Regions from separate parts of the Homo sapiens genome. Here region 1 is linked to region 2. The links are contacts of gene promoters, found by promoter capture Hi-C in human tissues and cell types (Jung and others, 2019). All regions are on one chromosome and are shown on one strand. The core of a region is centred on a gene start or on the middle of the fragment in contact, and the rest is flanking DNA. Distances in the headings are between cores, read along the strand shown.

What was found. Contacts are between HindIII fragments. The study calls those that stand out against the background at their distance.
Region 1: a contact is called between a fragment that was not itself captured here and the fragment with the promoter of HK3 in region 2, in 4 of the 25 tissues and cell types used here (H1 embryonic stem cells, bladder, mesendoderm cells and 1 more).

What each region holds. Positions count from the first base shown.
Region 1 is chr5:176,797,359-176,800,204 of GRCh38, forward strand. No RefSeq gene overlaps it. Among named protein-coding and RNA genes, the nearest start is that of UNC5A, 12 kb to the right of the region's middle. RefSeq lists an enhancer at 800-1,746. The HindIII fragment of the contact is 8,487 bases long and covers 1-2,846 here.
Region 2 is chr5:176,898,026-176,900,925 of GRCh38, forward strand. It overlaps HK3 (hexokinase 3), which reads right to left and starts at 1,321. Exons shown (of 19, transcript NM_002115.3): 1 at 1,242-1,321. RefSeq lists an enhancer at 2,141-2,642. The HindIII fragment of the contact is 11,300 bases long and covers 1-2,900 here.

The sequences.
Region 1 (2,846 bases), core at 305-2,804, 100 kb before region 2:
TGCCCCTTTAAAAAATAATAATAAACATGTGTCCTGTTATTCCCTTTAGATTGGGAACTGGTGTGGAGCTCTGGTAGCTAAAGACCCTCCAGACTCCCACGTCCCACCAGCTCACACCCTGTGGCCTCGGGGCCACCTGCTCTAGCTGCTGGATGCGCCCGACTTCAAAGCCCATTAAGTGGATCATTACGAGGTTAATAAAACCCGTTCCCCTACACCCGCACACGTCCGCCCTCGCCTGCGGCTGCTGCCCATCAGCTGGGTCTGCTCTCACTGTTGCCAGGAGCTGAGAGAGAGCGGGGCGGCCGTGCAGGTGAGCAGCCCCCAGGGAGCAGTTGTCACTCAGGCCCTGTCCCTCCAGGCTGTCCTTTGAGGTGGGAAGTGGGAGGTGGCCTGTCTCTTTGAAGACCCTGCACCTGAGCCAGACCCTGTTGGGGGCCTGTGAGGCTGGCAGGAGGCGGCCGCTACAGTGGGGCTGAGGCAGCCTCGCACACAGAGAGCTGTCCTCTGTGAGCTGCGGTGTCTCCGCGATGGAGGAGGGAAGGGGCCTGCTGTCACCCTGACCCACTCCAGGCACAGGGGGAATAGGGGCTGGGGCAGTGTTTGGGCAGTGGCGGCAAGCCTGGGGTGGGGCAGGGTGGACCCCTGGGGCTGAGGGTCCACTTTCAGGGGGTGCCCTGATACAGGTTCCAAGACGTTCCCGGCGTGGGGTCCTGAGGGCGGGGAAGGCTCCTCTCTTCATCCAGAAAAATTCCATCTCGATGAAATGTACCTGAAGAAAACATCAGCTCATCATGTGGTTAGTGAGGGGGAAAGACACACCGCTGAAGGAAGCATACAGCAAGAGACCAGATAGTAAAAAATCTAGTGACTGATGCCAACATATAGACCTGCACCCATGGAGGGAAAGGCCCAGGAGGCCGTGCAGCAGACTCCGCCAGCGGCTTTCTCCCTGGAAAAACCAAGGATGTGAGGCGGGGTGATGTGCAGTCTTTTTTAAAAACACAAAATAATGTATTCATGTTTTATATGTAGGATTAAAAATTAATTTTTAAAGATATTCACCAAGGATATAATTTAGAGTGCGAGGGTCAGAGCTCCCCTTGAAGGAAGGGAAAGGAGAGTGAGGAAAGGACAGGAGAGGGTCCCGGCCGCGGGCGAGACCCCCGGGGTGCTGAGCCACTGCCCTGGGCCTGGTGCCTGGGGGACAAACCTGTGGTGCCGCCTGTCACCGCGGCGCCTTCTCTGGGATTGGACACCCCCAGCTATCTCCCCGGCTTGACCTCGCTTGAAGCTCCCTCCAAGATCCCACCCTGAAGTGGCTGAGGTGGGCCCAGGAATTGGTTCCAGGACTCGGGGAGCCGCGCGGGGCAGGAGCCAGGCCCACAGACAGCAAGCAGCGTTCTGCTTGGCTGATCCACGATGTCGGGGCTGCGGCATCTCCGCTTCCGCCCGGAGAGTGACGGCGTCCGCAAGCTCATGCGAGGGGGGTTATTTTACTAACCAGATAGATTAAGCATCTCTCCTTCTAATTACCGGTTTAATTAACCTTGGCACACAGTATGTACCAGACCCGAGGGACAGAGTCAGAATGGCTGCTCTGGGTGAACATCGCCCATCTGCTCTGCGCTAGGCTCCAGCGGACTCTCAAGGGGCCAGGGCAGCAGACATTGAGGGCCAGGAGTCTGGTGGCACCAGGAAGGAGCGGAGGAAAATGTGGGCAGGGATTGTCGGAAACCTCACAAGAGAGTCTTGCCATGGGCGCCGGATTCCAACAAGGCTGCCTCTTCAGCAGCCCTCCTGCAACGACCTGAGCAGGGCTGACCCCACCTCAGAGAAGGCAGAGCCCGGGCCACCCTGCTTGGGTCTCCCAGGGGTCCGCAGGGTAGCCAGTGTGCCCTGTGCAAGCCTGGGAGGTAGAAGACGTGGATGGCGATGGTGGAGGTGCTGCTTCAAATTCTCCAAGCCTCAGTCTCCTCATCTGTAAAATGAGCAGGATGGTATCTAAGTCACAGGGCAATTTATGAGGTTTAATGAAGAGAACAGAAACTGAGATACTTAAATTACATTCGTCTGTTCATTCACTCGTTCAGCACATATTCCTGGAGTGTGCACTGTGTTGGCAAAAGTAAGGAATACGATGGTGAACAGGGAGAATTGAAAGACTGAGTGCTCTGGGAATTGACAATGTCTGCCTAAGGACCCCAGAGTCATAGCACATGTGTGCACACACACACGAGCACACACACGAGCACGCACACACAAGCACACATACACACGAGCACACACAGATACATATGCATGCACACACACGAGCGCACACACAAGCACACATACACATGAGCATGCACACACATACACATGAGCACACACACACGAGCACACACACATACAATGAGCATACACACACAACACACACACACTGCTTCTTCCTGAGCTGTTGCCCGTGACACGCACACTCAGCACACACTTAGAAGATCCCTGCACGCACACACCTGCATGGAGACGTGTGTCTCCTTCACAGCCATGAACAGCACACACACTCATCTCAAAAACAACTCTACACCCACACGCATGCACGGGTGGCCATGTGTGAAGACGGCTGTGTGGCTCCTCTATTCTCAAGAAACATAAGGCCAAGATGTCACATTAATAAAAAACATGGTGTCCTGGTAAAGGTATATTTGTTTATTTAAAAGCTTATTAAAATCTTAACCTAGTCTCCTCTTCACTAATGCAGTGTTACTGGAGTCTCTTGATGATTGTGTGGGAGGGTGAAGAAGAGAGTGTGTGTGTTTGCATATGTGTGAGAGAGACTTTCTATTCATTTGTGTGTGGGGTGTGCT
Region 2 (2,900 bases), core at 71-2,570:
CTGCCTGCGCGCATCCCTCACCCTCACCTCCTCTATGCAATTGGATCTCAGGCTCTCTAAGAGCTCTCCTCTGCATCCCCTCCTCCCCATTCCCACACACTGCACCAGACCATCCTCCGGCCTGATTATTACAACAGCCTCCTAAACTGATAGCTCTGCTTCTAGTTTCTTCACCTCCTTACCCCACCCAACTTGATCACCTCTGCACTCATGGCCGGCACAGGGTCTGGTATAGGTATGTGCTAATGTGCCTTTCCAAAATTGGAAGCAAGGGGAGTGGGTAGTTTTTTATTTAATAAAGCAACAAATCAGCTTCTGATAAATCTCCCCAAACCATACATACCTATGCTGAGTTTCCAAATCTGTCAAATAGGGGTGTGGAATTCTTGTTCTATGCTGCAGGTCTATTTCAAGGATAAAATGAGGTAACTGGGGCAATTACCTTCGAAAAGGACTAAGGGCTACACACGTGTCTTTCTCAAGGCCCAGCTAGTTCATTTATTCATTCACTCACTCATTCATTCCCTCATCCATTCAATATTTATTCAGCATTTTTACATGACAGAATCTGTGAAGCAATCCCCAAGTAGCCCTAATATTTATATGCTAGGTAAATGTATTCAGCTCTGTCTCTTCCCACTGAGATTCCCTGTGGGGAGGGACATGTCTCCTTCACTGCAGTATCCCCAGAGCCCAGGGTCTGTTTGCCTAAGGGCCCCGTGGCTTCCCTTAGCTGAATGGGCTACACGAAGTGAGTTTTCCTCCTGAAAAGTACCCCAGGGACCTCTACTGATGTTGGGAGCTGCCATCGAGAACCAGCTGGCAGGCTGGGTGTGGTGGCTTGCACCTGTAATCCCAGCACTTTGGGAGGCTGAGGCAGACAGACTGCTTGAGCCCAGGAATGTGAGACTAGCCTGGGCAACATGGCAAAACGCCATCGCTAGAAAAAAATAACAAAAATTAGCTGGGTGTGGTGGTGTGCGCCTGTAGTCTCAGCTACTCCGGAGGCTGAGGTGGGAGGATCACTTGAACCCAGGAGGTCAAGGCTGGAGTGAGCCCTGACTGTGCCACTGTACTCCAGTCTGGGTGATAGAGAGAGAGACCCCATCTCAAAAACAAAGAAAGAGAACCAGCTGGCTTAATCTTTCCAGTGTCCACTTCCCCTGGTGTGAGCCAAACAGGAGGGATGAGGACAAGACAGCTGTGGAAGGAGCAGGCAGTAATTAGACCGAAGTGCTTACCTGGGACACAGAGAAGCTAGTCACTCTCCTCAGGTCTGAGCTCTTGTCTGGCAATATGAGGCACCCCAATGACCAAAAGCAACACTCAGGGGTGACCCGAGTTATAATATCCTCAAGCCCCACCCTTTTCCTCCACCACCACTTACCAAACATCAGCTAATTCAGGAAGCTGCACTTCCTTCCAAGCCTGCCCTAAGAGTAGCCCAGGCTAGGCAAGGCTGTGGTGAAAACTTGAGCAAGATGATTACCGCGAAGTGGAGCGTTGAACTGGGTCTAAGATTTTGGGCCATTCCCTCTACAATGCTGAGGGCTGTTTATTTTGCAAATATAGTGAGTTCTGAGGTGGTGGCTCGCCCCTAGAAGGAGCTGGAGGCGCCTAGCCTGGAAAGGTTATGGTAAGTACTTTTGAGCAAGAGGCAATGTGGGAGCACAAGCGGAAGGGACTGACTCTGCCGAGAGTGGGCAGGGCTAGCTGAAGAAGCTGAGTCTTGAAGAAAGAACAGCAGTATGCTGACAAAAGTGGTCCTTGACAAAGTGGAGAGCATGTGCACAACCACAAATCACACACACACAGCAATGAGGTGCAGCTCCAGGCGCCTGAAGAGGGTACACCAAGGTAGGAATATATAGTGGGAGAGGAGGTGACAGGCAGACTGCGGAGTCTAGCCTTTAGTCTGTAGCCTGCGCAGGGAGAGTAGGTTCACATCTTAGGTCTTCTCTACTGGAAGAAGGGGAGTGTTAGGCTGCTGTGGAGCTATTGGCGAACAAGCTGTTTTTCTGTGGGAATTTCTCCTCAAAGGCACAGAACCTTGGGGCACCAATGTAGAATACTAGACAGCCTGCAACAATCTTTGTTGAAGGCATGGATACACTTTAAAGCTTCAGGCTGCCTTGTCAGCAGTAACTCTATCCACAGATAGTAGGCCTCCACATGACATCAGGATGGAGACCAGAGATAGTGGCTCCTCTATCAGTAGTGGCATGAAGAGGCCAGGAAACATGCCAAACATCAGTCCTGCTGTGAAGTTTACTGGGTACCAACCAGGCATATAGGCTGTGAAAGGCAGGGAAGTGGGGGATGGGGTGGCAGAGGGTAGAGTGGCTGTCACAAACAACACAGCATCCTGCCTAGCCTGGGATCCCAGTCCCTTTCAACTTTGTTCAGTTGGGAGAGGAGAATGTGGAACTGACTATGAAAGGCCCAGCTGTGATTCATGCAGATAGCCTGCCATTTCTTGAGCCAGGGTGAGGATATGCCCCTGACAAGCATGGCCAGGGCTCTTCATCTGCGTTTCTGGAAGGTCTGTGTCCAGACCCCAGGAGCAGGGGTCCTGGTTCCCTAGTCAGAATGCCAGGGAAAGTCTGGGTCAAGGCCAGTGGAGGGAGAAGGATGGCTGAGCTTGAGGTCTGTGAGCAGCTGGGACAGCCTGGCTGTAGCAGAGGCACTGCAGCTGCCAGCGGTTCTCTTCAGACACCAGATGGCCACTGACCAACAAAGGGAAGGACAAGTCCTCACGAGGTTCCCTCATAGCCCCTTAGTGCCAATCTCCAACTGTAGAGATGGAGCTAAGGAATGAGGAAAGGCAGTTTGCTGGGGGAGAGGTGGGCACAACCAGAGCACTGCCGATGGGCTGGGAGGTCAGGCCTTCCCTCTGCGCT